Regions from separate parts of the Homo sapiens genome. Here region 1 is linked to region 2. Evidence: promoter capture Hi-C in human tissues and cell types (Jung and others, 2019). All regions are on one chromosome and are shown on one strand. The core of a region is centred on a gene start or on the middle of the fragment in contact, and the rest is flanking DNA. Distances in the headings are between cores, read along the strand shown.

What was found. Contacts are between HindIII fragments. The study calls those that stand out against the background at their distance.
Region 1: a fragment that was not itself captured here is called in contact with the fragment with the promoter of TMEM163 in region 2 in 1 of the 25 tissues and cell types used here (IMR-90 fibroblasts).

The regions. Positions count from the first base shown.
Region 1 is chr2:134,771,996-134,777,007 of GRCh38, forward strand. No RefSeq gene overlaps it. Among named protein-coding and RNA genes, the nearest start is that of TMEM163, 56 kb to the left of the region's middle. The HindIII fragment of the contact is 3,113 bases long and covers 1,851-4,963 here.
Region 2 is chr2:134,715,737-134,720,303 of GRCh38, forward strand. TMEM163 (transmembrane protein 163) reads right to left here and starts at 3,264. Exons shown (of 8, transcript NM_030923.5): 1 at 2,998-3,264. The coding sequence starts at 3,199. It overlaps LOC105373629 (a long non-coding RNA gene), which reads left to right and starts at 2,376. Exons shown (of 2, transcript XR_923354.4): 1 at 2,376-2,831. RefSeq lists a silencer at 3,348-3,587. The HindIII fragment of the contact is 12,733 bases long and covers 1-4,567 here.

The sequences.
Region 1 (5,012 bases), core at 2,157-4,656, 56 kb after region 2:
TTATGAGACGACAGCATATGATATATACGCCAGACAGATTTATAGACAGATTGGATGTGGGATGTGAGAGAAAGTGATAAGTCAGGGATGACTCTAAGGGTTTTGGTCTGAGCAGTTGGAAAGATGGCACTGCTACAACTGGAGAAGCGGAAGAGCTTCAAAAGAAGCAGATTTGGGAGGGGCTGGGGGCCAGGAGACAAAGATTAGGAATTTAGTTTTGGACATGTTAAGTTTGAGAATCAGGCTTCCAAGTGGAGATGATACATGGGTAGCCATAAATCCAAATCTTGAGTTCAGAGGAGCGGTCTGATTGGAGATGAAAATCAGGAGTCAGAGAAATGGCACTGAAAAGCATGAGACTGAACTGCTACCAGAAAGGGGTCCCAATCCAGACCCTCAAGAGATGGTTCTTGGATCTCCTGCAAGAAAGAACTCAGAGTGAGTCCATAGAGTAAAGTGAAAGCAGGTGGATTAGAGAAGAAACAACAGAGAGGCTACCCCATAGAGCAGCCCTGAGGGTTGCTGGTTGGCTATTTTTATGGCTATTTCTTGAGTATATGCTAAGCAAGGGGTGGATCTTTCATGAGTTTTTTGGGAAAGGGGTGGGGATTGCCTCCCCAACTGAGGGTCCTCCCTCTTTTAGACTATATAAGGTAACTTCAGGCGTTGCCATGGCATCCGTAAACTGTCATGGCGCTGGTGGGAGTTTTTTAGCATGCTACTGCATTATAATTAGTGTATAATGAGCAGTGATGACGTTGCTTTCATGGCCATCTTGGATTTGGTGGGTTTTGGCCAGCTTCTTTACTGCATCCAGTTTTATCAGCAGGGGCTTTATAGCCTGTATCTTGTGATACCAGACCTACCAACCTCTTAGCTCATTCTGAGATTAAGAATGCCTAACGTCCTGGGAATGCAGCCCAGCAGGTATCAGTCTCATTTTACCCAGCCCTTATTCAAGATAGAGGTGCTGCGATTCAAACGCCTCTGACAGAACAATGGGCCATGGGTTGGTGAAGCCACAGCTTGGGCCCAGATCTACTTACACTTGCCCTTCTACACTGAAGACGTGAGGAGAGAACTGACTGTATTTGTTAGTTTTTGTTTTGTTCTGTTTGTAAAAGAATTAATTTCTGTTTTCCTTTTTTAGTAGGAAAGTATTTCATGTTCAACTTAGAGACTTTCTAAGAAAACATAATAAACATCAAAAATAAAAATTATTTATAATCTCATTAATCACAAATAATTGCTCTTAACCATTTGACATATTTTCTTTCAGACTCTCGCCAGTGTACAGTATATATTTTGTATGTCACACAGTGTCCTGCCCAAAAAGTATGAGTTGATTTGACTTTTTTATTTTATAAAAGAATGTGAGAAGGGAAACAGGCAGCCCCAATGGGAGGCTGGCCGGGAGAAAGAGTGGAGAATTACCATCCATCACTATCCCCAGTGCAGGCTTCCTGCCCAAGGAGGCTTGGTTTTGCATAAGAATTCTCAGTGCCCTGCCCTGGGCCATGTGGCCATGTGGCTCTGCCATCTGTTGAGCAGATAAGGGAGCCTGGGTTTCTGACGTGGGTCCCTGGCACCTGGTGAATACACCGGTAAATGGGCCTTTCGCTGGTGTGACTGTCTGGTGCATCACAGACCTTACCGCCCTGGGCTTCCCCCCACTCCGCAGTTGGGTAAGTGAGAGGCTGTTGCCGTGGCAGCAGGAAATTTGTTTCCTTATCCAAACTGTGAGGTTCAGGGAAGGTTATTCAGGAGTGGTTTCACAGTGGAAACAGAAAACTGTTTCAGACAAAATGGGGAAAAAAATAAATCTCAGGAATTCATTTTGTCTTCTTGGCTCCCAGAACATCTCATTCAGAGGGAAGCTGTCACCTTTCTGTTTCTGACCTGGCACGAGGCTCAGAACTCATGCCCTGCCTGTCTTTAGCCTGCTCTTTTTTTTCCCCCTTAATGTGAGGCCCAAAGTGAAAGTCCCCAGGGAGCAACTGCTCTAAATACTGATTCACAAATGGAGGAGGGGTGTGGGGCAAGATCTGCTGCGACCCTCCCCAGCCACACACCTTTCCCACTTTCCTGCCTCATCATCCCACATGCTCTGGCCAGGACAAAGTGAAAGTGTGACATGACCCCAGGGGCCCCAGGCTCAGGGTTTTCCTTTCCATGGAGGTCAGCGCCTCTTATCACAATGAATTCAGCACACTCAGCCTTACTCACTCCTGCCAGAGCCCAGCATGATGCATTGATAAAAGCACGGATTTTAGAGGCAGCACATTTGGGCTCAAATTCCCCCTTGAGCAAGTTCTTTAACTTCTTTCAGACTCAGTTTCCATGTCTGAACAATGGAAATGGTAATGCCCACGTCAGGTCTCTTAGGCAGACTAAATGGCTGCAAAGCCCCTGGCCTAGAGTACAGTCACAGCAAACATGACTTCCCTTCCCTATTCACAGAGGCCAGTCCGGTGGAAGTGGATTCCCTCTCTATATATGTTTCTTCTGGGGACCTCAGGAGGTCATCTGGTGACACACTTCTCCATTAGCATCTTCCACAGTGTTCCCAAAAAGGAATCACATGTCATTACCTTGACATTTGCAGTGCTTACTAAAATAGAACCTGATATGAAGTTCAGAGACTAAAAGTCACAATTCAGGGCCTAAAGAGGGTTCAAAATAAAAATTACCTGGGGTGAGAAGTTTAATTCGGGAAAATGTGAGTAACTCTCTTTGGGGAAAAAGGTAGATGCTTCCCAAAACTGCCTCAACAGAAACATTTAATGAGGAGGAAGGCCTGCTGGGGCCTGGGGATGGCACAGATGTCCCAGCCCCATGCGATGAGGCCCTCTTGGATTAGAACCATTGCTGGGCCCAGGTGTGGCCTGTGGAAGAACGTGCATGTGGGTCCCAGAGGAGTGCCTGAGCCCTGCTTTTATAAACAGCTTCATCAGATAATCTCCTGACACTTCGAAGGGGGAGTCCTCCCCACAGGAAACGCGAAAGCACAAGATAAGTGATCTTATCCTTTTCCACTTAGGCTTCTTCAGAAGAGACACAGCGGAGAGCAGTGTGTGAATGGAAGACAATTTTTACTTAAAGATTGTAGTTTCAAGATTATTTCTACAAACAGATACTAAATGCCTCCATGTGACAGGCAGGATAAAGGCCAACTCCTCACCACAGCATGACAGGCCAGGGCATCCAGAGGGATGTATGCTCCCTCCAGCCGCCCTGAACTTGACTCACTTCCTTGAGCACCCCGACAAAAACCCTCCTTCCTCATCCCAGCTCCAGGGGTGAATGGTGGCAGTGCCTAAACCAGGCCTGGCAATCCCATTTCCCTGGAGGTGATTCATTTGGGTGTGGGCATGGAACAGAGTTCTGGCTAAGAACTAGAAGGGAAATCTTTAGTTCCCTGGGGAGTGGGGAACCAAAAAGCACATTAAACAAAAAGCTCCTATTATTCTGCTGGACACGCCCATGTCTGTATGTGAAGCCAGGAACAAGGGCAACCACTTCGTAACTGAGAGTGAGCTAAGCTGATATGTGAAGATAACAAAGGGAAAAGGTGAAAAGAACCTGGGCTTTAGAGAATGTTGTTTGAGCTGCTGGACTAATTGGCCCTGCAGCTGCTCTACCTCAGGACTTCTTGCTGAGTGAGACAATACATTCCCCTATAGAGTGAAATAATACATTCTCCTATACAGTGACATAATACATTCCCCTATAGTTGTAGCCATTTTGAGATGGGTTTTCTGTTCGTTCCCACCAAAAGCATCCTAAGTGATACATGGTCCCATCGACTTGAAGTCGATTTTTAATGCTGTATTTTAATTATATACATAGTCACAAGACTAGATTGTTTTTCTCTGAAGCTTCTACTTTGTTTTTCAAGGGAGCAGGGGAAATGAGGGGCACAGCAAGAGAGAGGAAGCACAATCTTTCTTGGCTGTCTACGAACTGAGACTAGCATTTGCCTGGATGATTGTTTGTTCCTGTGGGGATGAGTGGTTGCCTTTTCACATTTCACTAGGGTGTATGTACGTGTGTGCTGTGAAGGGGAGGATGCACTTGGAGGATTGCTTGCAAAAGACAAGGAGCTGAAGGAAAAAGTTAAAGGAGTTCTTTTTCTGAGGGTTTTTATGGGAATCTATACATGGACAGCCAGGGACTTTTCTCCACTCCACACAAAGCCACCTGGCCAAGGGGGCGAGTAGGCATGCAAATCCAGCTCGTTCCCTGCTAATTGAAATGCCTGGCACTGGCTGCATCCACCTGGAGGAAGGGGCATTTTTCTAATCTGCACAAAGGTACGATAAGGGCTGGTGGTCACTTTATTGCAATATTGCTTCAAGGCCAGGTAACGAAGTGTGTCACAGAGGTCAAGAAGACCTATGTTCATATTTAGCCCAAAGCTGTTCTAGAAGTCCATTCCGGAAGTAGGGACTTTGGCAACAGCAGGAGAGAGCTTTCGGAACAGATGTTCTTGACATCTCGAAGAGCATGTCCCTATGTCTATAAATTGCTTTAAACATTTCATCATAGACCAGGTGTGCTAGACATATGTGCTAGATGGTTCAAATGTCATCTCTGAGCATGTCAGTTGTCTTAATCAAACATATGTGTTCTAGGGGTGATCAGTTGGCTTTACATCAGAAAGGCCACAACACATGCTTCTGATCGCATTTCCATCAATGCTTTGCCAATTAGGACAGTAAATGTCAGAAATTGCTGTTGAATGATGAAATTGGCGACTTGTTGATTAATGTGATTCATGGTTAGATATGCATTCTCGTTGGTGAAATAATGGTATTTAAGATATGTGGACTGCACAAAATACTTTAGAGATAGACAATTAAAACACAGCTTGCTAAATACTAGGATAAAGGGTCATCAGGCTGCTTGGATCAGACACATCACAATACATCAAGGCTTGAGGGGCGATCTTCCAGGGTGTGATCACTTGATCTGAGTCTTGCAGGATTAGCCAAGTGGCCAGGGTGGAGGAG
Region 2 (4,567 bases), core at 2,014-4,513:
TTTTCAGGAAGCTGTGCTTTAAAGCTGGAAGAAAGCCAGGCTGAAGAGACAGGACAGCCTAGAGAAGCTACGACAGGCCTCGGATTTGCAGGCAGGGCTGGATCCTCCCTACCCATAGCTGGCCCCCATATTTGAATTTCTAAACTCACTCAAATTTCATAATTTGCAATTTTGGCCTGGGAATACTAAGCATAGTACTAATGAGAGACTGATCCTTTATTTATTTTGGAGAGGGGAAAGGTACAAATACATATGGAGAGGCTGAAGCCATCAGTTATTTCTACACTAGTATGCATTAGTTCCAATTCCTTTCTCCTAAGTTTGTCAAGCTTGAACTCTGTGAAGAAAGGGAAATTTTGTTAGATGGGGAAGTACTGGGAAATGCTGACACATATAATTACCTAAGGCTAAGCTGGGCCCTAAGGTTACGGACAGAATGATGGGAAAATACTTGTAGGGAGAAGAATAGGTATTCAAAGGGGATGGGAAGAATGATTAAGATAAACCTGGCCTAATTTTTGTGTTTAGTCCCCAAAGGTCTTAGGCCACAGAGCTCTTGCTCCCTGAGCTTTAAGTTCAACCAGATGGCACTGCAGTTACTGACATTCTGAGCTAGCTAGGTTTCTGAGAACCAGCCCACATCATTTCTAAGGCGCAAATGCCTCCAAAGTCTCAAAACACTAGATTTTAAAGCAAACCTTTGATGAGAGTTAACTGTGGTCTGGAACCACATCCTGATAGCTCCAAAGGGAGTTAGGACAAAAGAGAATGCCAAATACAGGTGCAGATCCGAGGTACCCCTCAACCCCTCTACAGACAGCCTATAGGTATTTAGGCCTGAAAGAAAGCAAGCCAGGCAGGATGCAGAGACACACGGCAGGCAAGTGCTGGGGCTTCCTCCTCCCCAATTCCTCTCACCAGCAGGAAAGAGGTAGCTGCACTCAACCCATTCCCAAAGGATATAAAAATCAATATTGGAAAAATGCAGCCCCATAAGAAAAAAAATAACAGAAACAACAAACACAAAATCTTACAGTAAACCTCCCCAGGTAACGTTCTCGTTTACTTAACAAAAATCACTTATTCACCACATACTGGTTGCCATCAGGAAGAGGTCAAACAAAAGAATGTCACATTGACGTTCAGCTCTCAATGCCACACAGCACCGGGTTCTTTGGCGAATAGGGTTCATCCTAACAGAGAGGCTGTGTGTGATATGCCACGCTCTCAAACAGTGACAGTTTACGAACAGTCAATGCTTTCATGCTATCATATAATGGAAAATGAAATTCCGTTGACCAGAGAAAAATAACCTTAAGAATGAATTCAGAAGGGCTTTTTACACTTGAACATGAACTACAAAATGATGCTAAATATGAACTCACCCTAGCACTGTCTTCCCTCCTATCATTTTGTGGGGTAGGGAGAAACAGGCCAGCTCTTAGAGATGACCTGCAATGCTACAAAAATAAGCTCAACCCAGGCTTCTGTCTTTCTTCAATATGGAATTTTTAAATCCTACGATATTAGCTGGAGAGGGGCAAAGGTAATGAACACATCCTATAATAAAAGTGAGAGGTTTTGTTCCATGCTCGTGATGTCCCCTGTCCTCACCTCTTAAATGGCATCTAGTTATGTGAGAACAGGGGGAGAAACTGCAACAGAGGTGCAGAATTCGTTGCCACTGGAGCAGCTCCAGTTCTCGCTGAGCATCTAGGCGGATTCTCTGGGAACTGCCGTTTCCATGTCATTTTATTTCACATGCTACAGTTTAGAATTTCTAAGGAGAAAGAGATCGTGCATCCGAACACTAAACCGGAATAAAAATGTACAGGAGATACTAAGAATAGGACAGAAACCTGCTAAGTCTAAAATATATAAACCCGCCATAGCCAACAAAATAAGGCTTCCAAGAAAAGGGGGTGGAGGTGCAAAAGAGCCGGCTTCCCCTAAAGGGCCTGGCTGCAAGAATCCCTCTTTGGCCACTAAACGGTTTTAGCAGAACCACAGATTCGTTCTGAGGGGGACAATTTGGATTCGGATTCAGCAAGAAGTAGAAAAGGTGCAGACGCGGCCAAGAACAGGGCTCCCTCTGCAAAGAATCCAAGCCCAAAGGAAACGCGGAAGGGATGGAGAAGAGAGACGCGGGAACGAGCAGGGAGTCTCTCCCGTCCTACACTGGCGACTCAAGGGGGCATCGGCAGTCGGTGGGAGGCAGAGTGTGGTCTCCCAGCAGAGGCAAGTGTGCTGACCTCCAGGCCAGTGTCAGTGGAGGGGAGCTCTGAAGGGTCTGCAGACGCGCCCTCCGGAAACATCAGGTTTCAGTGGCATCCATCCAGATGAGGTTGGTGGCCCAAATCCAAATGTCCCATTCCTCTGCCCCATCATGAGACGACGGGGCAGGGACCCACTGTGACCCGCGTCCGCGATTAGAATCGGGGACTGCCCGAGACCAGAGGCCGCCCGAGTCCCGGCTCGCTCCCCTCCTTGCGCCCTTCGCCGGGGCGGGCAGCCGGGCGGCCGCCGAGGGACATCTCGCGGCTACACCCGCAGAGGGAAGTTCTCCCAGGCAGCCGGCGGAGCCGCAGGGGACTACGGAAAGGAGGATGCAACGAGCCTGGGTCCCTCCGAGCTGAGTAGGGCCCGGAGTGGCCCAGAAGCGCTCGACTCCGAACGCAAAAAATGCCTCCCGCAAACTTTTCCCGTGGGCGCCGGAGGGCCTGGAGCTGGCGGAGAGGAGGGCGCGAGTCCAGGCGGGGTCGGCCTGAAGGCAGCTGGGGTCTGGGCTTCGAGGGAAGGAACCGCAGCCGAGGCGGTGCCGGCCGCAGAAGGTGGGGCTGCCGCTCTCGGCTAGCGGCGTTCTCGCCGGGAAGTCGGGGCTCCGCGCCCCCGCGCGCTCCGAGCCCCGCGCCTCGCCCAGCGCGGCCCGCGAGTGGGGAGAGGCGGGCCCCGAGCAGCCACCCCGGTCGCCGGCCGGGTCGGGCAGCTCGCGCTCACCTCGGTCCTCCAGCCCGTCGCTGAACTGGCCGCTCTCGCTGATCCGCACCTGCCGCTCCTCCTCCAGCTGGGGCGGCTCGCGCACCGGGGAGCTCAGCGGGGCCGGGCCGGGGGCGGCAGCCGGTGGCGCGTGGCCCCGGGGCGGCGGCGGGACGGTGGGCCCCTGGGAGCTGCGGCGCTGGATGCCCGCGGCCGGCTCCATGGCGCGGGGCTGCGGATCCCGGCGGCGGCGACGACAAGCGCGGCGGGGACTCGAGTCAGAAGTGCGAGGCGCCGCGGCTCTGGCGGGGGCAGGAGCGGACGGACTGGCCGCGTGGACAGGGAGGGAGGGCGGGCGGGCGCCGCGGAGTGGAGGTGCACGGGCGGGGGCGGGGACGAGCGGAGAGCCGCTCGGCTCCGCGGCCGGTGGCGGAGGCTGGGGCCGCGTTGTTGCCGCCGCGCTCCGCCCCTGGGGGCAGGTGCGGGCGGCAGGGACCCGCCCCAAGGCCCGGGCGCGGGAGCCGGCGCACCGAGGCGGACGAGAGGGAGGAACCAGCGTGAGGACCCACAGGCGGCCCTGGCAGAGCTTGGCTAGGGCGTAGCGGGGACCCGCCCCACCTGCGCCGCGGGATGGTGCCCAGAGGGGACCCCTCCCACTGGATTCCTCTGGGGTCCGCGAAGCCCGCGGCCGCGCGTGGGTAGCAGACAGCGCCCCTAATTTGGCATCTTTCTCTTCTGGAGCTGCACAGGCTTCAGAGGCTGTACAGGGTCTTCGCCTGGGCCTCCATTCTCACTGCTCATCCAGGGAAAAAGGGTTCATCTGTCCCCAAGCCCGTCGCTCTCCGTCCTTCTCGGAGCTTTAACTCCCCTCCCAGTTTCTCCCTGGAGCACCCATTTAGCCAGGGATGGGGTATCTTTAGGACAGCGGGCGCTATAGAAGATGCTTGAACTCCGAGGCTTCCCCATTTCGACTCTTCCTGGGCCTTTGTCCCATACAGTTCGCTCCCCTGCTCATCTAAGTCTTGTGTGATCTTCAGAAATCCATGGAAGCCTCCCTTCTACGAGAAGTCTCCCCTACTCTGACCCCTGCAGCTCTTAATTCATTTTGTGCGGTGGGGCTGATCTCACCAGTGAGAGTCCACCGCAGGGCACACGCCAGCTCTCTTGATGCCCAGAGAGGAGCAAAAGAGGACCTGCTGTTTAATAAATTCAGCTTGGATTTGTTGAGGCTCAGAAAAGTATACCCCAACGTATGGCACTTTGGTATGCTAAGTTTGAACTAAAAAACTAAACAGGCCTCTGAAGCCGCCTTAGAAACAAAGTCTGTCTCCCCCCCGACTTTCTCCCCACTAAGCAGTTCACAGAAACCAGAATTCCTCTTCCCTACGGTGGTCATACAACCTAGAAATAGTACTCCAACCTCCCTGGTCCTCTGCCTTTCTGTGTAGGAGCTGGCCATGAAGAAATACTCAGACCTACCTTGTCTGATAGTAGATCCTGAGACCCTCATTCCAGAAGAGGTCCTGCTCTATACATGCTGCACAGAGAGGCCAAGAAGAATCTGAACAGGCCTCGCTGGGTTCAACCCTCA